Regions from separate parts of the Homo sapiens genome. Here regions 2, 3 and 4 are each linked to region 1. The links are contacts of gene promoters, found by promoter capture Hi-C in blood cells and fetal thymus (Javierre and others, 2016). All regions are on one chromosome and are shown on one strand. Each heading gives the region's core, a stretch centred on a gene start or on the middle of the fragment in contact. The rest is flanking DNA. Distances are from core to core; before and after follow the strand shown. Region 1 holds the start of SYBU (syntabulin). Region 2 overlaps LOC101927413 (a long non-coding RNA gene). Region 3 overlaps LOC101927413 (a long non-coding RNA gene). Region 4 overlaps LOC101927413 (a long non-coding RNA gene).

The links. Contacts are between HindIII fragments. The CHiCAGO score rates a contact against its expected background, and 5 or more counts as called.
Region 2: a contact is called between a fragment that was not itself captured here and the fragment with the promoter of SYBU in region 1, in 1 of 17 cell types (endothelial precursors). The highest score is 5.3, in endothelial precursors.
Region 3: a contact is called between a fragment that was not itself captured here and the fragment with the promoter of SYBU in region 1, in 2 of 17 cell types (total B cells and endothelial precursors). The highest score is 5.6, in total B cells.
Region 4: a contact is called between a fragment that was not itself captured here and the fragment with the promoter of SYBU in region 1, in 2 of 17 cell types (total B cells and naive B cells). The highest score is 11.0, in total B cells.

The regions. Positions count from the first base shown.
Region 1 is chr8:109,640,883-109,647,833 of GRCh38, forward strand. It overlaps SYBU (syntabulin), which reads right to left and starts at 3,940. Exons shown (of 7, transcript NM_001099754.2): 1 at 3,754-3,940; 2 at 1,846-2,050. The coding sequence starts at 3,777. It overlaps SYBU-AS1 (SYBU antisense RNA 1), which reads left to right and starts at 3,247. Exons shown (of 2, transcript NR_161375.1): 1 at 3,247-3,340; 2 at 4,236-6,951. RefSeq lists a silencer at 3,705-4,194 and enhancers at 3,707-4,643, 4,305-4,624. The HindIII fragment of the contact is 4,274 bases long and covers 2,383-6,656 here.
Region 2 is chr8:108,870,895-108,877,845 of GRCh38, forward strand. It overlaps LOC101927413 (a long non-coding RNA gene), which reads right to left. Exons shown (of 6, transcript NR_188035.1): 5 at 3,650-3,717; 6 at 1-836. Among named protein-coding and RNA genes, the nearest start is that of TMEM74, 87 kb to the left of the region's middle. The HindIII fragment of the contact is 3,600 bases long and covers 910-4,509 here.
Region 3 is chr8:108,907,526-108,914,476 of GRCh38, forward strand. The region is part of intron 3 of LOC101927413 (a long non-coding RNA gene); the gene reads right to left. Among named protein-coding and RNA genes, the nearest start is that of TMEM74, 120 kb to the left of the region's middle. The HindIII fragment of the contact is 3,273 bases long and covers 2,691-5,963 here.
Region 4 is chr8:108,926,653-108,933,603 of GRCh38, forward strand. The region is part of intron 1 of LOC101927413 (a long non-coding RNA gene); the gene reads right to left. Among named protein-coding and RNA genes, the nearest start is that of TMEM74, 140 kb to the left of the region's middle. The HindIII fragment of the contact is 191 bases long and covers 2,796-2,986 here.

The sequences.
Region 1 (6,951 bases), core at 2,690-5,189:
GAATAACTTTGTGGAAGTATGTAATAAATCCAAAGCTGCATTTATAAAATCCTTGAAAAATGTAGCTGTGAGCCCTAAATGCAGTGGAATGTTAGGTCCTGCTAAATTAGAGCATTAATCATAGCATCCTGATTCATGTGTTTCTTCTCATACATGTGTTAATCTTCAAGTTCCATGTTCCCTAAATAAGTTCTAAAACATTATCCACTGTGAAACATTCTTCACTAGTCATAAGACAGTCACTCCTTTAAATTTTACCCAAATTCCTAATACTTCTCAAGTAACTCCTTCTAAGTCATGTGCTTCAATGGGAATAAAAAGCTCTGTCAAATGATAATGGTGGCACCTTCAGGAACTATCAAGAGATTTGTGCCCTTACCAAACATGCTCACAACTTTAAGGAAACTTTCTTAATCACGTGCCCAAACAGACATCCATAGTTCCTTGTATTAAGAACCATCATTTATTAAGCACTTCTGTAAGCCAGGTACCGTGTAAGGTGAACATTTAGGTACTGGTCTCATTCAACTTCACAGCCACTCTACAAGGCAAGTATTATAATCTCATTTTATGGATGTAACAACTAAGGCTTAAGGAGGTTAAGCAACTTGCTGAAGGTCACACAGTATGTAAGTGGTGAAAGGGCCAGGGATTCCAGCCCTTCAGGCTTGACAGATCACAAAGCCTGGGCTCTTCCCTACTAAACCATAAGGCCAGGCCAGCCTTAGGCTATAACTCTCCTTGATCTTGACCTCATTTATTAGGAATTGCTTTATCTTTGGGGAATTTTATAATTAGAGGTACACAGGCTTCTAGAAGTTGCTAGTATAAAATTCAATCCAATATTTTTTCTACATTTAACAAAGGAATGCATCTTTAAAAACAGTCATAGAATGGCAGTAATTAAAAGATCAGGAATGGACAGATGCTGGAGAGGATGTGGAGAAATAGGAACGTTTTTACACTGTTGGTGGGAGTGTAAATTAGTTCAACCATTGTGGAAGACAGTGTGGCGATTCCTCAAGGATCTAGAACCAGAAATACCATTTGACCTAGCAATCCCATTACTGGGTATGTATCCAAAGAATTATAAATCATTCCACTATAAAGACACATGGACACGTATGTTTATTGCAGCACTGTTCACAATAGCAAAGACTTGGAACCAACCCAAATGCCCATCAATGATAGACTGGATAAAGAAAATGTGGCACATATACACCAAGGAATACTATGCAGCCACAGAAAAGGATGAATTCATGTCCTTTGCAGGGACATGGATGAAGCTGGAAACCATCATTCTCAGCAAACTAAACAGAGGAACAGAAAACCAAATACCGCATGTTCTCACTCATAAGTGGAAGTTGAACACATGGACACAGGGAGGGGAACATCACATACCAGGGCCTGTCAGGGGGTGGGGGCTAGGAGAGGGATAGCATTAGGAGAAATACCTAATGTAGATGATGGGTTGATGGGTGCAGCAAACCACCATGGCATGTGTATACTTATGTAACAAACCTGCATGTTCTGCACGTGTATCCCAGAAATTAAAGTATAATAAAACAAAGGAAAAAAGTCATAGAAACAAGAAGTTAGATTTTACATTCGAAATTATAAGCTAGAATAACATATGAAAATTCAGGTGTGAGATTCCAATAAACTGAACTATATGAAACTGCTGTGTTTGTAGGTCACAACAGCCAGAAATGTACCACCTTCTACAATTCATCCTAATAGTAGAAGTGTAGTTCTAGGCTATAAGGGACCCAGTATGGGCCCATTCACAATGCACCTGCAGTGCACACGCTTCACGCCTCTGGTGGCCTCCCGAGGGTACTGTACCTGAGCAGAAGCTGTTGCTGCTAACGGTCCTCGCTGAGCGCCCAGAGCTGCTGGGGTTGAACTCTCTGCTCTCTTCCTCAGAGAAAGGAGACTCAGAGGCTGGGGACACTTTGTGCTGTTGTTGGGGCATATGGGGCCGAAGAATCAACCGGGGAATTCGGCTTCGAGAAATCTCCTTGTCATGATGCTGCACTCTGTGCTCCTTCTCAAAATTGGACATCAAAAAAGAAAACAAAAGGAAACGCGTTTCCCTCTCTTAACTCCTGTCGGTTCCTTCAAGGATCAATTTCTAAGAAATCACATTTCTGAGTATTGAGTCTTCACAGAGTAGTCCTTCTTATCTCAGTTGCTGAAATGAGCTTCAAAACTCTTCCAATGAGTTAACCTTTCTAATCTACTGAATAGCACATGTCTGTGTGGCACACACACACACACACACACACACATATACACACCTCCACTCACTAGCTGGAAGGCCATCCTACTTCCCTATGCTGGTCCTGACTCACCTTCCCACCCTGACTTCTATCACATTCAAGCTTCTGCCTCCCAAAGGCTCTTTATTAACACCACACTCTGGCTTACTTGATAGCCTTCAGACTTCCATTTTGCTTTCCCTAAATTAGCTGTGACAGTCTGACTTGTTTTCTTGTCTCCTCACAAAGTTGAACCCTATACCTGGAACAGTTATTTCCTGATAGCTCACACACAATTATCTTTAAAATCCCTCCTCTTCTGGACAGGATCTTAATTATTCGTTAATATCCTGGTACACAAGGCTTGTTGCCAACAGAAAAGCAAACACAAATCCGATACTCGGGAAGATGGCTCCACCTTTTACATCATCTTTAATTTTTGTTTTCCTTACAGGACATCCATAAGAAGAGATTTTTCTTTCTCCTTAAAAACGCAGCATGAAGTACCCTGCCATTTCGTGGTTTTAAAAATGCGTAACAGTAATATTTTCACAATGTTTTCCAACTTATAAAGTGCTTTTCCAACCATTTTCTCATTTGATCTTTACACACCAGACTGTACATAGAGAGCACACCAATGAATGTCCCTATTTTCAGATGAGGAAACAGGCTAAATGGGGTAGAGATGCTTAGGCAATTCTGCACACCATGCCAGAAGTAGAACGAAATTCAAATCCAGTGCTTTGCAGGGTCACCACCACCCTGCCTTATGAAAATGGATTCCTAGGAGGAGCGTTTTGCAAAAATTCCACTGCTTCCTCCAACCTCTGCCACTGAAAGGGACTCTTTGGCTTAGGTAACAAACACCCTTTCGAAACATGACCTACTGTTCCTTCCACCGGCTTACCAGGAAGGGTCACGGCCAAAATAAACACCTCTGGGAGGCCGGCACATGGCATAAATTGAAGGGTAAACCTCAGCAATGGGGAACTTCGGAGGGCCCTCAGGCATCCACTCTACCCGGGGGCCGCCAGCCGCACGCAGCCTCGGATTCGCCCTGCACATCTGCCGCCCAGCAGGTACCATGCGCCAGCCACTCCGCCGGGCACACCGCAGACCCTGAGCTAAGGCAGGGTCACTGACACGCGGGAGTCCTCTTTTCCCAGTCGCGGATGCATCAAATTCCTTTCATTCACATCACACACACAGGATATCAACTGAAAGCTACACCCCACAGTCCCAGTTTCAGGAGGTGGGATTAACCCTCCAATCATGTCATTCTCCAAAATCTATTCCTCCAGTACCACCTCCCCATCTCCTGGATCTCAACTCCTAAGCAATGCCTCCTGCCTTCTCCAGACCCCACCACCACCTCCTTCCACCTTTCCCCAGACTCTAAATGTCACCCCTCCAGCTCTCATCCCGCCGCTTCTCGCCCCGCAGTGCCCGCCTTCCCCGCCCTCCAGTGCCCGCACTGCCCCGCGCTCCTTACCTTGCTCTCGCGGAGGGGCCCCATCGCGCCGCTGCCCGCCGGCTCCTCGCGCCGCCGCTGCCGCCGTCCAGGAGGAGGCACCTGCGAGCACGGAGCGAGGAGACTGCGCTGAGCCGGCGCGGGCTGCGGGCGGCGGCTCTTGGTGAGGCTCCAACGCGCCGCCGCCGCCACTGCCGCCGATTGCTCTGGGCTCCGAGGGCACGCCCGACCCCGCCCCGGCCGGACACGTGGTGCCGCACTCGCTAGAGGCAGCTCCTGGGGCGCCTCCCACGCCCTCCCTCACCTGCGGCCTTCGGGGCAACTCGACCGCGCCTGGGCGCGCCCCACCCGCCCGATTTCCCCACGGCACTCCGCGCCCCCCCAGCCAGAGCCGGTGTCCCTCCCTCTCCAAGGAGCTCGGCCCGGTGTAGGCAGGCTGCGGCTAGCGGCATCTCCAGCCCAGGGGTGACCCCACCCTCTTTTTTTTTTGCACTTGATCTCAGGTTTGAAGTGGGTGGCGTTGGATGGAGTGACTGAGAAAAGCTGCGACATCACAGAGAGACAAAATAGAGAAAGTTTTCCCCTGGCCACCCCTCCTTGGCCTCCAGGTCTTAAGTCAGCCTACAGCTCCCCACAACTGCCTCGCCCGAGAGCTGCAGAGATCCCTCTCGTACCGGAGCCCAGCCAAGCCAGTGCGTCAGGACCGACACAGCCTCTGGGTTCCGGGATCTGAAAGGCTGCGATGGATTCTACTTGGAAGGGGTTGCATCAGAAAGGCCTTCAGTGGTCAGCGCAGCTCCCTCCGGCTTGGAGAAGCCAGGCTGCTATGTAGCCAGAGAACAGTCTTTTCCCCAGCGCTGCCCTGCAGCTGCCCGGCTCCAGGAAGTAGCTCCAGCACACTGCTAAGGGAAGAGCACTGGAATTGAACTCAGAAAAACGAGTTCAAGCCAGCACTCCAATCGGTCCCTTCAGCCTGAGTGCCTTTATGCCTAAAGTTTTTGTTGTTGTTTCGTTTTTTGTTTTTTTTTTTTTCCGTTGCTGTTGAAACGGCATCTCGTTCTGTGGCCCAGGCTGTAGTACAGTGGCGCGATCAGGGCTCACTGCAACCTCTAACTCCTGGGATCAAGGGATCATCCCGTCCAGGCCTCTCAAAGTGCTCGAATTACATGCGGATGCCATTGCATGCGTGGCCTACGCCTACGGTTCTTGACCCTTCTGAACTTCAAATTTACCCTTGTTAAATTGAGGGATAATAATAGTGATACCTACCTCTAGGATAGCTGTGAGGGTTAGGTGAGGAAAACAAACAGCTCTATCCAGCTGATTGAACAGAACTTTCCAAAGGGCAGCTAAGTCAGGTCCAGATGATCCAGTCAATATTTGTTGATGCCTTTTACATGACAGGCAGAAAAAGCATTTGTGATGCACACAAATTTGTTTAAGAAAGCTCGAAAATCTGTCCAACTGGGGACTTAGAATAGGGTACATCAGCTGGGCCAAGGGCCTTGATTTATTACAATTGCTACCCTTAAATCTTATCTGGTGGTGGAATTCACCATGTATAATGACTTATATACCCTTTATTCAGAATTGGAGAATATTCCAAGCAGTGCGACACTCTGATCCTTATGCACCAGTGTCCTACATAGGAGGACTGTGCTCCTCGAAAACTGAGGGTCATTGTCCCCTTTCATCCATCCTCCAAACAGCATTTCTGAGTCCTCAACTCTCAAGCCTAAGAATATATGTTGTGAGTCTAGAGAGAGCCTGAAGCCAGAGGATTAGTGGAATCAATTTCCCTTCTTCCTATAACTCCAAAAGAGAGCTTCCTCCATAAATCTTCATGCCTTTTCAATCTACTTAGCTCTCTCAAGCAGTGAGGTTGGTAATTTTAAGATTCTTTATTTGGGAAGAAGAGGTGATTAATTCATACTTTCTACACCCACAGCTGTTTCAAATATGGACCTCAGGAAAGTGATGGTCCAGGATGATTCATACAACTTATTATTCCTAAAATTATGAGCCTGGGATCATATACTGTGAGATAAGAACAAACTTTTAAAGTTAATGGATGCTTCTGAGTTCCCTACTTAGAATTGAGAATTGACACTGGGGACCTAATAGCAGAAACACCCTCCACTGAGTTAGCCAAGTCAGAACCTCAGTGTCATCGTGGACTTTTTTCTCTCATTCACCTGACCCACACATAGCATAAACCACCAAGTGATCTCTATGCCACCCAAGTAATAACGGTCTTGAATCTGATTACTTCTGTCCACTATTTGTCTCCATTATCTTCGTGTAGAGTGTAAACCACAGTCACCCTAGATTATTGCAATAGTGGTCTAACTCAAGGTCTCTTGCTTTCAGCCTTGCCTCTTATTCCTTTCTCTCCGATCAGTGTCTCCATTTTTCCACAAGCCTTTATGAAAAGCTAAATCAAGTCATGCTTCTCCGTGAAAACTCATTAATGATTTCCTGATTGTCCTCCAGGTAATACTGAAACTCCTTAATGTGGCACACAAGGCTTTCCTGATCTGGCCGCCTTGTTTACCTCTCCGATCTCATTTCTTGCCACTCCTCTCTTTTGTAGATACTCCCTCCCCTCCCTAACCTGTCCCTTTGGTCCCTGCCACTCTTCCCTTACATACAAATGGATACTGCTCAAACTGTAGCACTTTCAGTTCTCGGAGGTGGAGGTTTTGTATTCTCTTTTTCGTCGAGACTGCTGCACCTGCCTCTGTTTAGAACATTTCTTGCACTACATCCACCTATCCTCCTCAACTCTTAAAGATACATTGTTTCATTTTAGACAGCTTCTTCCAGGAAACCTCCCCTGATGATTCCAGGACACTTATTTTTACCCCCAAGAGAGCTGTTATGATCTCCTCAGAATTCCCCATTTACTTGTTTGTTTTCACCAAAGCTTGTAGGCAGTGCCTAGTACAATTCCTGTTATACAGTTGACACTCAATACATAACTGTCAAATGAATTAATGCCTGAATGAGTGAATTCTATAACCCCATAAGGGGCCCATCAGTGCAAGATAAAGAACATAGATACAACTTGTTTTGAAAATGATTCAGATAAAGCTGCCTCCACAATGTATTTGTATCTGATGATTGGGTGTGTGCCTAAAAAATCCAACATGTGTTCAGTGACAGCTTTTACTGCAGAAGTGCAGGCACTGAGAGGCTGTGCAGTAGCCTTGCTGTCGC
Region 2 (6,951 bases), core at 1,460-3,959, 770 kb before region 1:
TTGCCAAGAATCATTTGTCTCCCTAAGGCTTCAGGCTTTTAACAAAAAAAGCTAGCATTCCTTTTTTTTCTTTGTTTTCAGATACAAACACATTATTTCTTTGGGTGCCATAGCCAAGTAGCTTGAATGAAGTGTGAAGCAGGCAAGGAAGGAAGGCAAATAAGTGGATTTTAAGTAGAAGGATAAATCTATACATCGAAAATATTATCCTGCTACAGTATGAAACCATAAAATTTTGTATGTTCATTTATTTAGCCATTCCACTTCTAGAAAACACTTTTCAAGAATTACTCACTAGTGAGAACCATGTCTTAGCTGAAGACTGTCCATTACAGATTACACTCAATGACAAAAGCTGTTAGCAATCTAAATATCCAATGAAAGACAATTAGTTAAATAACTATGAGACAATTGCCCAATGGAACATTATTCAATCATGAAAATAATGTAAAAGAATATTAAAGAACATGGAAAGCTTCAAGATATACATTTAAGTTGGAAAAATCAAGTTATGTATGATTCTCTACTGCAAAAAACATATAAATATTGAGCAAAGCTCTGAAATATAGCTATTTCTGGCGATGTATCTCCAGTTTAGATCTCCTTCCTAAACCCCAGATCTGTTTTCAGTTTCCTGATAGACATTTCTGCTATGAAATCTCACAGCACCTCAAAATCAACATGTCCAAAACTGAGCATATCTTATATCCCTCCAAACCTGTTCCTTTTGTAGAGTTCTCTCTCTCAGTTAATGGTATTCAAACCAGACATCTGGGCGTCCTTGAATCTTCAATCTGCCGCCCACATTCATGTTCAGCAAATTTATTCAGCACCTGCTGTATGCCAGAAACTAGTCAGACCCTGGGTATTCCATATGGAAAAAAATAAACATGGTACCTGAATTCATGAAGCTTATTGTCTAGCAAGGAAAGCAGACACTAATTATATCATTGCAAATAAATAAAATAGTCACGTTTTGATTCTTTTATGAAGGAATAAAATCAGTACTCTGAGAGAGTGAGGACGGAGACATTTTAAATAGGGTGGTCAGGAAAGTCCTCTCTGAGAAGATGACATGAAGCTGAGAGCTGAAGTTTCCAGCCATGTGAAAGGCAGCGTGGCATGGAGGAGAGAATTATTGATAAAAGAAAGAGAAACAAGAAGCCTCCAGAAGGAATTGTAGAATTAAATTTATTTTACCTTCTAAAAATTTATTGAATATGTCTTTTTCTCTCTATCATTGCAGGCTTGACTCTTTTCTAGATCAAAATTATCTCTTGCCTCAATTATTCAAACATCCATAAAATGGCATTTCTGCTTCTGGATTTGTCTCCATCCCATCCACCCATCACATTGTAGCCAAACTGATTCTTTTGAGGCAAATTGGATCATGTCACCCCAGTGCTTAACACCCTATAAAAGCACACCATCACTCCTGGAACTAAGCCCCAACTCTCCTCTGTGGTTTATAAGGCTCTGCAAGATCTCACACCAGAATACTCACTCAAACTGTTTCCATTAACTGCCCTCCATTCTATACTTCAGACATACTGAACTTCTTTTATTTCTTCACACAGACTATTCTCTTACACCTTAGAGCCTTGCCAAAGCTGTACCCTCTACCTGAAGCACTTCCCCACTTCACTGTTTTATCTGATTAAATCTTTTACGTCCTTCAGGCCTCAGCTAAGATATTATTTCATTGAGATAGGCTTCCTTGAGTACCCAAGTTTGATGCCCTGGTTTTACAGCACACTCTCTTCCCTTCTCTTCCATTATCCTGTATTATAATCGCCCATTTACAGTCTGGTTCTTCAGACTGTAAATTTCACAATTTAGGGCCTTTTCTTTACTTTTTCCTGCTTTATCTTGCAAACCTAGCCAAGGTCTTGAAATACAGTAAGTGCAAAGGGATTACCTTTGCACTCTGGCAAAGGTGGGTCGATCGCTTAAGTCCTGGATTTCAAGACCAGCCTGGGCAAAATGGCAAGACCCTGTCTCTAAAACAATACAAAAAAATCATTTGGGTGTGGTGGCATGCACCTATAGTTCTAACTACTCTGGAGGCCATGATGGGAGAATCACTTGTGCCCCGGAGGTTGAGGCTGCAGTGAGCCGTGATTACACCACTGCAGTCCAGCCTGGGTGACCAACACTCTGTCTCAAAATAGAAGAGTATGGATGGCTTTGTTTCTTTTCAAAATTCTTCGTATTCTAAATATTTTAAAGATTATTTAAGTAGTACTATTCTACTGAAGAAAGAACACAGGCTTCAGATGGCTCATCAAGTACTGATATGGACATAAGTAAGACTTCCCTGATTATCCCAGGATATTAGGCTGAGCTGAATCTAGGAACAGTCTCAAAATTCAAGGTCCTGAGAGTGAGCAGGATCTGGTACAGTGGTGCAACATCACCTGTTTCAGAGCTGAAATAAATAAGGCTGAAATGGGAGAGCCCAAGGGAGAAGAAGCCTGTAGGGAGAGACCTAATGCAAAGCCAGGGCAGCCCATCCAATAGGTCCTCCTTCCGCAGGGACTGGGAAATAGACTGTACCCTATAGCCAGGCAACTGGACAAATTTTCAGATATCCATAGAAAGGAATGAGACATGAAGGGGTAAGTGGGAGAACAAACCTGGAAAACATTCCTGAAGCAGGAAAAAGATCACATCAATTCCGTTTTTGTGGGGAATTTACATCCTCAGCATCGGTGGAGAGGAAACATTTAATGCTACTGACAGCAGAATAATTTTATGGTTCAAAGACCATGGGAATGGGTGTCATGAGACCAGTATTTAGGCTACTAGCTTTTTGTGTGATCCCCAAGAGAGAAACCTACCTCTGTGCCTTGCTTTCCTCCTTTGTAAAATTAATGGATTACACTAGCTGATCTCTTAGGTTTTTTTTTTTTTTTTCAATTAAAACATTCTGTGTTCTGTCATTCTGGGCTGAATGCCCAAGGCATTCAACAAAATACATTTGTTTTAAAGAGATAGAGGAGGGAAGTAATTCACCTGTACTTATTTATGAAGCACAAAGTGAATTTTCTGACTTTCAGATAACACCTTGACACATGCTTGATAGTTGCTGAGTAAACTTGCTTTATATGTGATGAAACATACTAAATTTAAATTGACTCTAGTTTAACCTAAAAGCCATGGGAATCTGACACATTTCCACCCATAGAAAATATTAGAAGGATTTCATTTACTGCTAATGCTTGGTGCTAGAAACACTTGAAAGTCAAACACAAGTCATTTATTTTATGACTCATTTCTAACAACTTGAGAAAAAATACATTTAGTAACTCTGCGTCAGTGCTATGAAAAGAGGCAAAATAATGCTTCTCTAAAACTTAGAGAAAGCCACCTCTAAAGGAATATTTTGGGCATATTCTGCACTGGCTCTTTACTCCCAAAGGCTACTTGTCCCTGAAACAATCCCATTATGAGGTATCTCCCTCTGGTTGCAGGCAGAGGAAAGAAATTAGGTTTTTTGTTCCAAGTTAAGACCATCTTGCTGCAAGCCTTGTTCTGATCTTAGAGACCTAGAGACACCTGCTCCAACACCTGTGTAGTAGTCTGTTCTCACATTGCTTTAAAGAACTCCCCAAGACTGGGTAAAAGAAAAGAGGTTTAATTGACTCACAGTTTCACGTGGCTGGAGAGGACTTGGAAACTTATGATCATGGCAGAAGGCACCTGTTCACAGGGCAGCTGAAGAGAGAATGAGAGCCGAGTGAAGGGGAAAGCACCTTATAAAACCATTAGATCTCATGAGAACTCACTATCATGAGAACAACATGGGGGAAACTGCCCCCATGATTCAATTATCTCCATCTGGGTCTGCCCTTGACAGGTGGGGAGTATTGCAATTCAAGGTGAGATTTGGGTGGGAACACAGAGCCAAACCATATCAATCTGGCATTCTAAAATATGCTCCAGTCTTGGTTTACAATATTCAAGGCTGGAATTTCCCTGACTCATATCCCTTCCCTAGATATGTTTTCCTGATTGGAATTTTCAGGATCCTTAGGGTCGCAAGGAAAAATTACACACAAATTACCTTTAGTAGGTTTATGTTAGGAATTCTCCCCATAGGGTAGCATGTACAGGAATGTTACATTGCACTCAGACCATGCAAGACTGAGATGTACAACAGCCATAATGAGTACCAGAACAATGGCTAAGCATTGTTTGGAAAGACAACTGCTCTTTCTTCTCCTCATCCTACTTTATCTATTAACTTTACCCTAATGAGAAGAAACAATGTGATTGGCCAAGTTGTTACCATTTAACTGGAGTCTCAGGGACACCTGACCTATCTTACCTTCAGACATTATAAACATTCTTTCAGATCATGTACCAAAACCTGGTGAAAATAGCTAGGGACCGAGTAGCAAGATTGATTTCATCTGACCCAGAAGACACTATCATATCATGTGAATCAGAAGAGAATTTAGGACCTCTTATAGAGAATAGGGCAATATAAATGAGCAGGTACTTTGAAGCTTTATAAACTTTCTCAGTGATAAGATTGCAGATAAATAGGAAGTACAGTTACTAAACAAAAAGGTACCATGAAACCACTAATGATCTCTGCATGTCCATCCACCTGATATAAGAGCCACTTCTCCCCTCCTCAGGGGATTTGAAAATCTTGTATGCTGACTCCATTCTTATATATTTAGAGACTCTCTGAAATATTAGGTCAATTATATCTGTTCTGCAAAGAGATTTCACTAAGGAGAAGAAATTGTGAAATTATGCCCATATGTTTTAGGGTGTGATTTAGTCTACAGAAAATTATAAAAAATTGACATAATCCCATTAAAATCTAAACTATAAGCAAAAAATATACATTTCACTTTTTGCCACTGAAGTATGGAAGCCTTTTAACCAGAAGCATATCCAAGGCTTTCTAAATTCACTCTCTGAAAAATGAAATACCAGCTCCACAAAGTTGAGCCAGGCCTCCTGCTCAAACCAGCCATTACAATGATAAATCCATTATGTGGGTTGAGGTTGAAGTGTTGGAGAAATCGTGAGAGCTTTTTAAGTAATCTGTATATAATCTTCTATTTATATTCTTTGTGATTCTTGATTACTTTTTGGTCTCGTATTAAGTTTCCTATTTACACTTTTTTTTTTGCTTTTTTTTGGTCTTATTTTCTACTTTCTTTTGGATTTGCCAAGTTTTGATTTTTTCTTCTCTTTGCCTTAAATTCATTTGGGATATTATCCATGTTATTTCTACTATTTTGTGATAATCCTTACATTTCTAACATACAGACTTCACTTAAATATTGTCTTAGTCCATTTTGTGTTGCTATAATAAAATTTCTGAGAATGAGTAATTTATAAAGAACAGAAATTTATTTCTCACAGTTCTGGAGGCTGGGAAGTCCGAGATTAAGGTGCCAGCAGGTTTTGTCTGGTAAGGGCCTTTTGCTACAGTTTTCTCAATATGGCAGAAGGAAGAAGGACAAGCTAGCCAAAGACTGCTGCCTAAAGCCTCTTTTAAAATGGCCTTAATCCCATTAATGGAGGAGGAGCTCTCATGGCCTAATCACCTCTTAAAGGCCTCACCTCTTAATACTATCACATTGACAACACCTGAATTTTGAAGGGGAGTAATTCAAATCATAACCACTGTCAATATATCTTAATTTTGTCTATAGTTCTGCATTCATCCTTTATAAAAAAGGATCTTAAATTCCACAAATATGACCACCCTTCTCTGTCTTAAAAATATTACTATTGTCTTTAGTTGTACTTTACTTTGTTTTTAAATCCCTGTTAAAGCAAACTAAACATGGCCAGAGAAGGACTCTGTACTTCTATATTTGAGTCCTTGTGGATGAACTGTAACCTAGCTTAATAGTCAAACAAAACCGAAAACCTAACTTTGTAGTAAGTAGCACCTGTAACAATAGCTGAGTGTTGGCCAGTCTCAGCGGCTATACTTCAACCACTTATAGACTGCTGAATGTTCAAACTGCGTTCAAATAAGGCAAATACCGAGCTGTAACCAATCTCACTGTTTCTGTACCTCACTTCCAATTCCTGTATGTCACTTTACCTTTTTTGTCTATAAATTTGTTCTGACCGTGAGGCACCGTTGGGGTCTCTGTGAATCTGCTGTGATTCTGGTGGCTGCCTGTTCATTGCTCAAGTAAACTCCTTTAAATTTAATTCAGCTGAAGTTTTTCTTTTATCATCCATAATACTATGTTTACATTGTTCAGATCTGTTAATATCTTTCTCAGTTTCTTTACTTATCATTGCTTCTTACATTCAGCCCCTTTCTTCTAGCTTAATTCCTTCTTGCTGAAATATACATTCTTTAGTTCTTTCAGTAAGTATATGCAAGTATAAAAACTCTCATAGTATGTTAGAAATGACCTTTAGTTTACATTCACTTTTGAATCATAGTTCCCATAGAATTCAACATTGATCAGTATTTTGATTCAGTAGTTTAAAAATATTCTATTTTCTTCACACATCTACTTTGCTGACAAGAAGTCTGTTGTGAGGTCTTATTATCATTCTTTAAAGACTGTTTTCCTCTAGTTCCTTTGATTATACTGTTTTTGTGTACACTATATGAAGCTTTATTTCTATACCTAGGGAGACAGGAGGAGTGTCTGAATAAAATATAATGTTTGGGATTAATTTTCTTTTCCTTTTTTTTTTGAGGCAGAGTTTCACTCTTGTTGCCGAGGCTGAAGTGCAATGGCATGATCTCGGCTCACTGCAGCCTCCGCCTCCTGGGTTCAAGCAATTCTCCTGCCTCAGACTCCCTAGTAGCTGGGATTACAGGCACCTGCCACCATGCCTAGTTAATTTTTTATATTTTTAGTAGAGATGGGGTTTCACTATGTTGGCCAGGCTGGTCTCGAACTCCTGACTTCAGGCGATCCACCCGCCTCAGCCTCCCAAAGTGCCGGG
Region 3 (6,951 bases), core at 3,077-5,576, 730 kb before region 1:
AGATTGTGCGAAAGTGAGCAATTACAGAAATGTCAAAGAAAACAAGAACCTTCCTGTACTGTTGAAAGTGTAAATAATGTAGCTATTTTGGAAAGCACTTGGTAACATTCAATGAAACAAAGCATGTGTGTATATGCTATTTATCTGCTATTAAATTATTTGCAATATATTCCAGAGAATATTTTAAAGAGACACAGAAAGATGTGTGGGCAAAAATTTGCACCCAGCATTATTTCCATAGTAGAAATGTGTCCATCGGTTGAGAGATGGATAGATAAACTGTCAAAAATGCATGCAGGAGTCAAAAGAATGGGTAACTTATGGACATATTACAAGGCTAGATGTCTAATACATCATGTTCAGTCTAAAAAGGCAGAAGCAGAATGAGAAGCATAATAAAGTATCTTCAAATTAAACACACAAAATGATATTGCATATTATTCTTTTGATACAGATGTTTAAACATTGGTATAGCTGGTGGGAAAAAAAGAACGAGGTCTAGATAAAAGATGATGATAAACATTAAAGTAAAATAAAATGAGGGCTGGCATGAATTAATGATAACAGTTTGCAATAACTCTGATTAGTTTATTGTATATTCAAAGTCCCCCAAACACAACAATAAAAAAATAAGCTGGGAGCAATGGCTCACGCCTGTAATCCTGATGCTTTGGGAGGCCGAGGTGGGAGGATGGCTGGAGCCCAGGAAGTTGAGACTAGTGATATAGCCTAGAGAGAGCTTGTCTCTAAAAAAAAAAAAAAAAATTAAAAAAACACAGAATACTAGATATAGAAAATAAAATAGTGCACATATTGTTTACAAAAAACAAATTTATAAGCATCTGCTAGAAATTTCAGAGGAGGGAGATCCTCTAAGTTTTCCAGTGAGCAAGGAAGGATGAGTAGAAATTACAGGACTTCTATAGTACCCATTATTACTCATTTGAGACTTAGGAGAGATCATTGATAACAAATTTATTTAGTGTGTCAAGTTTATTGTCCTATTTTAGTTAACTTAAATGTTGATGAAGACTTTTCTTAAGCTTCATTCTAACTTTTACTCCTGTCCATATTTTTCACCATAAGATTTGATTACCTCAACAGACATATACAATGGGTGTTTGGAGAAAGCTAAACTCCAAGATTTGGGATGTATACTTATATTACTGTTTTTTTCCCCCCAATTAACTTTGCCTGGTCCCTTCTTGTGTTGAGTGCAGGATCTCCCAAGTGTGTTACTGTTAACCTTTTGAGCTGGATAACTCTTTCCTATTGGGGGAATGTCCTGTGTATTTTAGGATTTTAGCAGCATACCTGATCTCTACTCAACAGGTACCAGTATGACAACCAAAACTGTCTTCAGATATTGCCAGATGTCTTCTGAGAGTTTATCAGAAAGCTAAAGTAAAGGTTAAGTAATTCTTAAGAAGTTGATCAGATTTACTGTATATTCTTCCATAAACTGCCTACTCTCTGCAGAGACTCAGTGCATATCGAATCCCATAAAAAACAATGTATAAGAATATTCAAATAACAGAAATGTATGTCATGAGTTTCTGTAGGGACACTTGAAAAAATACTTTAATATTTAGATAGTTAGGTCAAATCAGATGAAATTTTGATATTGAACCAACATGGCAGTTTCATATTGTTCCACCTAATATTTATCAAAAGCTGCTATTGTGTTGTTTATTTCCCCTGTTAGAACTTAGTTTCCCTGAGCATTCATTGCAATATCTTTTACTTCTAATACAGTGTCTAACACAGTGCGTGCACTCTGTAAACATGGATCATAAATGCTAATTAACACATACGAACACAATTATACATTTAACTAGAATAGTTATAGGAATATATAAGACATTATTTAATGGCAGAAAACATCTTTTGCTGTAGTGACTTGAAAAAATTTTGACCTCCTCAAGATGTTCATTACATAATTTTAGTCATCTCATGCATTTCTTCATCTGATAGTTCTAATATGAGCTTCAGAGTGGGACATTTCAAAGTTTGAATTCCAGCAGCATTGTATGCCAGCTGTCTGGCCTGGTCTGTAAATAAATATGACAATACTTACATCAATGGATTATTGTGATGATTAAATGTCACAACATATACAAAACACCCAGCGCAGTGTTAGCTCAGGTCTGGTATTCAATGAATGTTAGGTAATTTTTGTTTTCGTTTTTGTTTTTTTCCCTAGGTACCCATTCCTATTGATTAAAGTTCTTAGGATTTGCCTCTTTTTGGGTTTCTTTTTGTTTCTGACATTTTTCTTCAACTTGGATAATATTTTTCAGCTGAGGATTTATTCAAGCAAAGTAGGAATTCAGGGGCTGTACTATGCCTATTTCATTTCTCAAGCTAAAAATAAATTTCCATTAACTATACATATAGATGTGTATTTACTTGAATTCTGTACTTGGTTGATGAACAGAATTTTATGATTTGCTTATTATTAGAATTTAACCTAATGACCTCCCACTACAGTCATACTTCTTAAGGTATTTAACGTTGAAATGCAGTTTATTTAATCTTTGCGCATAGGAAGAATAATTATATTGTAATTGCACAATTGTTAAAAGATATCAAGTGCATTTATGCATTTTCCATTTAAGTTAAATTATACACTAAGCATAATAGCTTAAAAAATACTTCTTTTTTACTTAAAATGTTTTTCCTTCTAAGAAAGCTTACAAATTAAATCTCACAAAGATAACCTGATATCTTAAAAAGATCACACACGTTGTACGCAGAGCAAATGTCATCGTTCCAGAATTTTATTTTTTAAAGGGAGCATTTAGTTAATACAAATCAATTTGCAAAAGTGTTTCATTCCCTTTTTGGTTCCAAAATGAATTGAATTCTCCCTTATTATTTGATTCTAATTTATTAGCAGTTTCAATATCTGCTCCTACAAAAATGCCACCCTTTTGCAACCAGAAATACTTTCCAAGAATATAGGACAACTAAATCAGTTTAATAATATATTTCATATAGCAAGCAAAAAACCCTTCAAAAGTTGATTTTAAAACATCATAATACAAAAGAATAAAAAAATAGTTAATACCAAGAGTTTAAAAATCACACCAAAACCTACCTTCTTTGCAAAAAGGTCTCCAGATACCGACTCTACTTGCTTTGTCTTGCTCTGCAACTCTAGGAGATAATCCTGGCTTATTAAATGCACTCAACTCTAATAATGCACACTTCGGGGATAGATGTAAAACAAAAGGAAGAGTACATTTCAATATGTTGACACTTCTCTTGTGTACATTTCATTAGCCAAGATGCACTGTGCATGAGCACACACGCACACACACATACGTTCAGCACTCCAACCATTTCCTTTCCCAGCTTAGAAAAATTGAGTGTGCCATTCTTCCCCTTTCTGACCTTTTTCATGTCCATTGAGATGAAAACCTTCCACACTTTCCCTTATTTCCTTATTTATCATGATAATATTGTCTTCAAGTCACTTTGCCCCTTGATCCCCTTAAGAAGGTGTGGCTCTTACTCCATGAAGACTCAGGGATTCCCCTTGCTTTATTCTATTATTGATTTGGCAGTTGTGGGCACATTCTAAATGGCAGATACTGGAGAAGCAAAGATGAACAAACTTAGATGAGCTTCATCTGGCTGTAGTCAAACTAATTATGTGTCTTCATCTGTCATGTTATATATATGCCCTGTCCCATTTACTTCGCACAAAAACAAAGATATTATTTTCTCCATTTCAGAGGGAAGAAAACCATTTCATGGAAGTTCAACAATTTCCCCAAGGGCACACAGCTAGTAAGCAGAAGAGCTGAATTCATAACTCACGTTTCTGACCCCAAAGCCTACAGTCTTTCTTCTCACTGCTGATTTCCCTGACCATCTGACCTATCCCACTGAGCCCTGACAGCACCGTTGTATCTGCTTGTATGACCGGTCATTAGATCTGTGCCCTAGTACACCCCCACTTTATCCCTAGGCTGTGGGGGTTATTGAAGGTCTTGCTTCCACCAGACATAGAATGGAGCAATAATTTCCTCCATGACCAAATCTAGCTACACCTCTTCTCCCATACTTTCTGCTCCCTCCTCCTGAATGAGTTTTACCCATTTGATTTTCTGTAATCCCCTCCCACCCCACCTGCCACACACAATTATGTGTGTATGAAGTGTTCTTCATGCACTTTGCACAAGGTGAGGAAAGTTCAACAGTAATTCATTATATATGTGCTGCAATCTCAACTGTTGATTTTAGAGTCTCAAAATTTTGTTGTATAACCAGGACAAAAATGTTACTATACAAGTTTGGTCTCCAGAGATTTATTAAGGAAGTGGCATTCTTTGTTGTCATTAAGCCTAGTTTTTTTCTTGTGCTTACTAAGAGTTGTGAGTAGAAATCTAGAGCTTCTTTATGAACCCCCCCACCCCCCACATCTAACATCCCAACAGAAACCCAGAATTTACAAACTCACTCCCAAAACTTCCAGTTATCTTTACTATATGAGTAGATTTCTCCAGGTCCCTAGCAACTGCTGTCAATATGAATTGTTTTGCTATAACTTTTGAGTGACTTTGGAAACCTTAGTTTTCAAGGAAGTTTGGTTTGATTTTAATCAGAAGCAACTACCTATAGTGCTTTCTGACAGCCTGCTAAGTGCTTTGGCTGAAGTCCACTTTTTCTTTTTATTTGCTACCTTGATCTTAAGAGGTATGCACTTGGCATGCAAGCAAAGTTGTAGAAAGGAAAATAAAAGGCAGCTCAGCCAAAATGTCTCAGGATATTTTTTTAACTTCCTATTTATGGTTAGACATATATAAAGGCTTATTGTAAAAGTAAATAAAAAAGAAGCTGAAAATACATAAGCATATAGAGAAAAAATGCCCTTATGTCATATTATTGAGGCAAACTACTTCAAAACTTAATATCCTTTCAGCCTGCTACATATTTCAGTGAAAAAGGGAAAAAAATGAACATAAATGGTAAAAGTCATAAAGTATGTTGGCTAGTGGTATGTATCTGCCTTGGCAAGTTAAGGCTGCATTAGAAATTCTTTTCCTAGAAAGAAATATTTAGACAAAAACCAAAAGATTGATTTAATGAAACTAATGGGTACACTAGGAGAATTCCAAGTTTGCCTAGAGCTGGAGAAGCCAGCAGAAGGAAGAGGAAGACATTTATTTGATGCCTAATAATCCTGGACTCCTACTCCTCACAAAATTCTCAAATATTGTAACTCAAGGTGCTAACTTGGATCACTTTGCCCTCCCAAACCCACATACTAGTGACTTTATCTCCATGGCTTCTCTTGTGTAAAATAACTTTCAAGGAAACTTACAAACTAGTGGATGGGAATTTAAAAATTTACAATAAACATACTACAAGACAAAAGTCGGCTAGTACTATGAGAGGGATACAACAAAGTTAATTGCATGTTCAAAGGAGGGAGAGAACGCATTCGGTATTTTTATTGGTGAATAGAGAAAAAGTGTAGGGATGGTTGATGCAGAAGTACCTTTGCTACTGAGGTGGAGAATTGAACAGGAGAAATAATAAAGGAGGAAAAATTTCAAGAAATGTTCAGGATTTTTTTTCTTTCCCTGAAACACAGGTTACAGAGAAGAAACTACTAAAAACAGAGATATAGGAAAAATATTATAAAGCACCTTGAATGCCAAACTAAAAAGACTCTGGTTGCATTTGTTAAAAAATATTAGAATATTTCTGAGGACTGTGTAACAAGACCAGACCATACTTTAGAAAAAAATATATGGCCATGTCCTCAAGGAATGTGAAATATGAATACAAGGAGGCTTGCATTACAGAAGATGACATTCTTACACAAGTTGCACTAGAAAATAGAACACAAAAACCTGAAACTTTAAGACAGGCAAACCAGAAATTTTGACATAAAAGGACTCTAATATAGAGGACTGAGTAAGGAGCAGCTACTTAGGCTTCTAAACGGAAGCTTGCATAGAGATGCTTCCTCTCTTGCAGGTGGGCTGGAACTCCCTGCACTCCTGGTCACCCCACCTCCTGGGTCCTGCCTTTAATCCTTTTGTGTATAAGTCACTGTGGGTTTCTGAGGTTGCATGTGGGTGTGCAGGCAGGGAATGAGTGATTGCAGGTAAGCGTCCCTTGGGCACTGAACATCCCTGTTCAGCAGGGCTCATCACAATGACAATGAAAGCCAACAATAAGAGCCAGTGCAAGATTCTATCAGGCGTCCTCCCAGGCACAGGACCTCTGAGAACCCTCACTCAGCCTGTTAGTGAAAACCTAAAGCTGATGCCCACCTGAGGGAAGCTGCAGTATGTAGTCAGCCTGGCAGTAGCAATCAATGTTTACCTTGAAGAGACCTCCTTGAGTCTACCATCTCCAGCAACCCACAAAGTCGGCCATGCAGGCCCTTTTCTTATGGTGAAACCTCCTTGCCAGGCTCCTCATTGGTAACCTCCACATCTGGCTGCCAGAGATGGGACTTGTCTTCCCTCCAGCATTACATAGCATGTAGGATAACTATCCATAGCTGGGCAGAATGCAAAAGGAAGAAAAAAAGACAGAAAGGAAAAGAAAGGAAAGAAAGGAAAAAGGAAGGAAAGAAGGAGAAAGAAAGAAATAAAGAGGGAGAGAGAGAACAAAATTTAAAACTACCAATATTAGTTCACTTGGATGGTGAAATGTTGGAGAAGAGGAAACAATTTTATCTAAATAGAAAAGATATATCAGTTTTCAACATTTGTATTGTTCTGAGAGCCATTCTCCCATACAAACACATACAATGCACATATAATTGGGGTTTGATCAATATTTAAGTAGATAAATAAACATCTACTGAATAATTCATATTTCCAGCATAAAATAGATGCCACACTCATATAAAAAATTGAAAGAAAGTTTGATAAAAGAACTACCTCTAAAGATGTGAGCAGAGTTAAAACATTAAAAACAACA
Region 4 (6,951 bases), core at 1,641-4,140, 720 kb before region 1:
TCTAGACAAGTCACTGATTGATATATCTCAGATTTTGGTGAGTCAAGGAGTAGCTTTATGCTACATTTATTCTTTGTTACACCAAGACTTAAGAGTAATGTCCCTTCCCTCAAAATGGATTTTAGGTAGCAGTTGACTTTCCAGCTCTAAACTAAAGTTATTTTTCCCCTTCACTTGGTGAATATCTGTCAATAAAGAGAGAATAGTGCTGTTGATTTATGGTCAAGCTCTTCTGGATCGATTTCCTCAACAAATAAAGAAATGAAGCATAGACAGTCTAAAGTAGATACAAGTGCCTCAGCACCCAAGTTCTATGTAATGTTTTCCTTATTGTCATCAGCAACCAGTTCTTGTGCTGCTGCTCTTTCTTCTCAGGCATTCATTCACTTCATTCAACAAACTTACAAGGTGCCAGGAACTGACTAGGCACTGGACATACAGCTTTGAACAAAAGAGGTTTAGTTTGCCCCACGTCCACTTTGGTTTGTTTTAGTCATGACAAGGCTTCATGTTTGATTCCTTACTCTATTTTTCTAAAGTAAAACCATCCTTTCTCATGATGTGTTTGCCCTGACCATTGAATCCTATGGTTATATACTGGAAGGTTTTGTAACCTGAAAATCAGATTCCTGTGTCTTACAGAATCCAGATTCACATTACATTGTTTAACATATTTATTTTAAATTTGTAGATCTTTGGTTTTTGAACATTTGTGTTATTGATTACAATAACTGGCTTTATAGAATATTTTTGAGCTGTTGTGTTTACCTAATCCTGTATGCCAAAATGTCAATTGCAGTAAGTTTTTATGTTTGGTACATACATTTTTAAATAGTACTTAGAGAGTTCTTTCGGTGGGTCTATTCTAATGTTCTCTCTCTCTCTCTCTGTGTATACATATGTGTGTGTGTGTGTGTATACACACATAAACACATACACATATATACATACATAAACACATTATACATATTTAAACACATGTAAATATGTGTATATCTATGTAAATCTATACATGTTTGCATGTCTATCTGATATGAGAGGGTATACTGGCTTTGCAATTTACAAATTCTATGCTTTTGTGCAGGTCATTTCACTTCTTGTTTTTCTCATATGCATAAATAGTGTAGTAGGGTGGTAAAATCTATTTCATAGAGTTAGCTGGATCTTAATATATATTAGCCATTATTTTGTTCATTTTTATTATTATCATCAAGTTTGGCAATCTCTACCTTGGTCAAGTATTTTTAAAATGCATCATTACACTTTAGACCAAAGTTCCCACAAATATTCAGTAGAAATTTGAAAAGAATTAACTCCATCCAGAGTCTTTTCCCATCTTTTCCATGACAATCAAACCCATATCTCAGAATTTTGCCTCTATTATCATTGGCTCATAACCTTCACACAAGTTTAAATATTTTTCTAGAATATGGCTCTCATTTTCACAGTAAAAAGCCTAGTCCTGTGTGAAAAACAGACACTGTGCTAAGATTTACACAATTTTGTCATTCCTCAGAAGAGCCTTCAAGATATGAGATGGGAATATTGTGTCTATGAAAGAATGTAGAATTCATACAGACATTACATATTTAAATAAGGCTGTAACATAGTAAGCAGCAGAGTCAGGAATCTAACCTGTGTTTGTCTGAACTCGAGACCCACTCTCCCTTATATTGTACTACCCATGGAACCTCCATGTAAAGGCACTCCTACTTGCATTAAATCTGTTGACTTTAAGGAAAGGTTGGCAATATCCTTGCTTCCTACTGTCTCATTCAAAGCCATTAGATTTTTACATTGGTTCCACCATGCCTACTTCGAAGACCACATATTAACTTTGTTTGTTTGTTTGTTTTTCAGACAGAGTCTCGCTCTTTTGCCCAGGCTAAAGTGCAGTGGTGATATCTCGGCTCAGATCCTGGGTTCAAGTGATTCTCCTTCCTCAGCCTCCCCAGTAGCTGGGATTATAGGCACCCACTACCAAACCTCGCTAATTTTTGTGTTTTTAGTAGACATGGGGTTTCACCATGTTAGCCAGGCTGGTCTTGAACTCCTGACGTCAAGTGATCTGCCCACCTCGGCGTCCCAAAATGCTAGGATTACAGGTGTGAGCCACCATACTCGGACTTAACTTTTAAAAGTCATAATTCCACCAATTTCCAGGTGCCTACCCAGTATGCATAAATTATTTATGCCAGAACCACAGTTCTCTTTTCTACTTCATAATCTTCTAGATGCTTAAGTAACTTCATTCTTCAAATGGACAACCATTTGTATACTATGGACTCATAAGGCTTTTACCTTCTCTTCATTCCACTTTAGCAATGAATCCACAGTTATGTCCTAAACAATGTCATCACTTTTCATCCATTTTTCACATCTGATATCTTGAAACTTGAAATGTGTCTCTCTGACTATAATTTTCTTCCACATTTTCTTACTTCTAAGCAATAGCATTATACTTCTAATATTTCCATATCTCATTATTCTCTCAAATTATTGAGGCTTTGCTTTCCTCCTTATCCAGGCTGGAATACATGGTTCACTGATTTATCTTTATTTCACAAGCCTCTAGGATTTTGTTACACCTCCATAGTTTATTTTAATCACTTTGTCAATTTCTACACCTAGACAAATCAGCTGCCCATTTTCTCTAGGCCTTTTGTTAAGCTGTGGAATTGTGCCAAATAACATCATATAATTTTCATGATTGGATCCATTACCAATGAATGAAATCCAAATACTGACAAGCCTTTAATATTGCTTTATAAATCCATTTATTCAATCTGACTTAAAGCTTCATTGAGCACTTCTCAAGCTGTCTCCTGCAAGATATTAGTATGTGTTCCTCTATATAGAAGCTCTAAAGTAAAATAATTTGGAAATGCTACATATTATATCTAATTCTTATAGATTCACAATTTTCATTTGCATATTCAAGGCTCTGAGAACTACTACAGCAAACATAAAACTTCACATAACATAAAGCTTCAATAATTTATTTGACTTTGAAATCCTTTATTCATTTATTAATTTGTAGGAATCATAACATCTCAGTCAATACATTTTAGGAAATGCCGTACTATACAAAGGGTGAGGTCCTTGTCTGGTTAGTTCACCACTGTATTCTCAACAGTTAGAAAGATGCCCATCTCAGAGTAGGCTCTCACACAGATACAAATATTGGATGAATAAATAAATGAAATAACTAAAGCAGTTTCTGTGACTTTTTCCTGATCTTTTCAATTTTATTAACCACACTACTGCACCCTCATTATCAAGTGAAGCTGGACATGACTTTGTTTTCCTATCACCTCAACATCTTTTCAAAACTTTGAATATTTTTTCATAATTCCCATCTCAGAAATATGTTTGAGTTTTCATGCTTAGTAATAAATATAGATGCTTAGGAGACATAGCTAGATGTCAATCTCTTTCAGATATTTCATTTAATCTCTTAATCCTGTAAAATAAGTAAAATATTCTCTTTTATGTAGGTGATAAAATTAAAACTCATACACACCACAGTTAGAATTTAAACCCAGAGCTGTTGATCTCCAAGGCATAGCTTCTTTCCCAGCCCCATTGTTAACCCCCACTTTCCAAAGATAATAGTCTCATTTTGTTAGATTCCATACTAGGTACAGCTTATGTAACAACTAGATCTACTAGTCCTTGAGCCCCACATGAGATTATAGCCCCGGCTAATACCTTAATTTCAGCCTGGTGAAACCCTGTGCAGAAAACTCAACTAATATATTCCTAAACTTTTTGCTTCCCAAGACTGTGAGATAATAAAAGGGCATTGTCTTAAGATGCTAAGTTTGGGGGAGGAGCCAAGATGGCCGAATAGGAACAGCTCCGGTCTACAGCTCCCAGCGTGACCGATGCAGAAGATGGGTGATTTCTGCATTTCCATCTGAGGTACCGGGTTCACCTCACTAGGGAGTGCCAGACGGTGGGTGCAGAACAGTGGGTGCAGCACACCGTGGGCCAACCGAAGCAGGGTGAGGCATTGCCTCACTTGGGAAGTGCAAGGGGTCAGGGAGTTCCCTTTCCTGGTCAAGGAAAGGGGTGACAGACGGCACCTGGAAAATCGGGCCACTCCCACCCGCATACTGCGCTTTTCCAACGGGCTTAGGAAACAGCACACCAGGAGATTATATCCCGCACATGGTTTGGAGGGTCCTACACCCACGGAGTCTCGCTGATTGCTAGCACAGCAGTCTCAGATCAAACTGCAAGGCAGCAGCGAGGCTGGGGGAGGGGCGCCCGCCATTGCCCAGGCTCACTTAGGTAAACAAAGGAGCTGGGAAGCTCGAACTGCGTGGAGTTTCTGGGGGCAGGGCACAGACAAACAAAAAGAGAGCAGTAACCTCTGCAGACTTAAATGTCTCTGTCTAACAGCTTTGAGGAGAGCAGTGGTTCTCCCAGCACACAGCTGGAGATCTCAGAACGGGCAGACTGCCTCCTCAAGTGGGTCCCTGACCCCTGACCCCCGAGCAGCCTAACTGGGAGGCACCCCCCAGTAGGGGCAGACTGACACCTCACACGGCCGGGTACTCCTCTGAGACAAATCTTCCAGAGGAACGATCAGACAGCAGCATTCGCGGATCATGAAAATCCGTGGTTCTGCAGCCACTGCTGCTGATACCCAGGCAAACATGGTCTGGAGTGGACCTCTAGCAAACTCCAACAGACCTGCAGCTGAGGGTCCTGTCTGTTAGAAGGAAAACTAACAAACAGAAAGGACATCCACACCAAAAACCCATCTGTACATCACCATCATCAAAGACCAAAAGTAGATAAAACCACAAAGATGGGGAAAAAACAGAGCAGAAAAACTGGAAACTCTAAAAAGCAGAGTGCCTCTCCTCCTCCAAAGGAATGAAGTTCCTCACCAGCAATGGAACAAAGCTGGACAGAGAATGACTTTGACGAGCTGAGAGAAGAAGGCTTCAGATGATCAAACTACTCCAAGCTACAGGAGGACATTCAAACCAAAGGCAAAGAAGTTGAAAACTTTGAAAAAAATTTAGACGAATGTATAACTAGAATAACCAATACAGAGAAGTGCTTAAAGGAGCTGATGGAGCTGAAAGCCAAGGCTTGAGAACTACATGAAGAATGCAGAAGCCTCAGGAGCCGATGGAATCAACTGGAAGAAAGGGTATCAGTGATGGAAGATGAAATGAATGAAGCGAGAAGGGAAGTTTAGAGAAAAAAGAATAAAAAGAAACGAACAAAGCCTCCAAGAAATATGGGACTATGTGAAAAGACCAAATCTATGTCTGATTGGTGTACCTGAAAGTGACAGGGAGAATGGAACCAAGTTGGAAAACACTCTGCAGGATACTATCCAGGAGAACTTCCCCAATCTAGCAAGGCAGGCCAACATTCAGATTCAGGAAATACAGAGAACGCCACAAAGATACTCCTCGAGAAGAGCAACTGCAATACACATAATTGTCAGATTCACCAAAGTTGAAATGAAGGAAAAAATGTTAAGGGCAGCCAGAGAGAAAGGTCGGGTTACCCACAAAGGGAAGCCCATCAGACTAACAGCGGATCTCTCGGCAGAAACTCTACAAGCCAGAAGAGAGTGGGGGCCAATATTCAACATTCTTAAAGAAAAGAATTTTCAACCCAGAATTTCATATCCAGCCAAACTAAGCTTCATAAGTGAAGGAGAAATAAAATACTTTACAGACAAGCAAATGCTGAGAGATTTTGTCACCACCAGGCCTGCCCTAAAAGAGCTCCTGAAGGAAGTACTAAACATGGAAAGGCACAACCGGAACCAGCCGCTGCAAAATCATGCCAAAATGTAAAGACCATCGAGACTAGGAAGAAACTGCATCAACTAACGAGCAAAATAACCAGCTAACATCATAATGACAGGATCAAATTCACACAAAACAATATTAACTTTAAATGTAAATGGACTAAATGCTCCAATTAAAAGACACAGACTGGCAAATTGGATAAAGAGTCAAGACCCATCAGTGTGCTTTATTCAGGAAACCCATCTCACGTGCAGAGACACACATAGGCTCAAAACAAAAGGATGGAGGAAGATCTACCAAGCAAATGGAAAACAAATAAAGGCAGGGGTTGCAATCCTAGTCTCTGAAAAAATAGACTTTAAACCAACAAAGATCAAAAGAGACAAAGAAGGCCATTACATAATGCTGAAGGGATCAATTCAACAAGAAGAGCTAACTATCCTAAATATATATGCACCCAATACAGGAGCACCCAGATTCATAAAGCAAGTCCTGAGTGACCTACAAAGAGACTTAGACTCCCACACAATAATAATGGGAGACTTTAACACCCCACTGTCAACATTAGACAGACCAACGAGACAGAAATTTAACAAGGATACCCAGGAATTGAACTCAGCTCTGCACCAAGTGGACCTAATAGACATCTACAGGACTCTCCACCCCAAATCACCAGAATATACATTTTTTCAGCACCACACCACACCTATTCCAAAATTGACCACATAGTTGGAAGTAAAGCTCTCCTCAGCAAATGTAAAAGAACAGAAATTATAACAAACTGTCTCTCAGACCACAGTGCAATCAAACTAGAACTCAGGATTAAGAAACTCACTCAAAACCACTCAACTACATGGAAACTGAACAACCTGCTCCTGAATGACTACTGGGTACATAACGAAATGAAGGTAGAAATAAAGATGTTCTTTGAAACCAATGAGAACTAAGACACAACATACCAGAATCTCTGGGACATATTCAAAGCAGTGTGTAGAGGGAAATTTACAGCACTAAATGCCCAGAAGAGAAAGCAGGAAAGATCCAAAACTGACACCCTAACATCACAATTAAAAGAACTAGAAAAGCAAGAGCAAACACATTCAAAAGCTAGCAGAAGGCAAGAAATAACTAAAATCAGAGCAGAACTGAAGGAAATAGAGACACA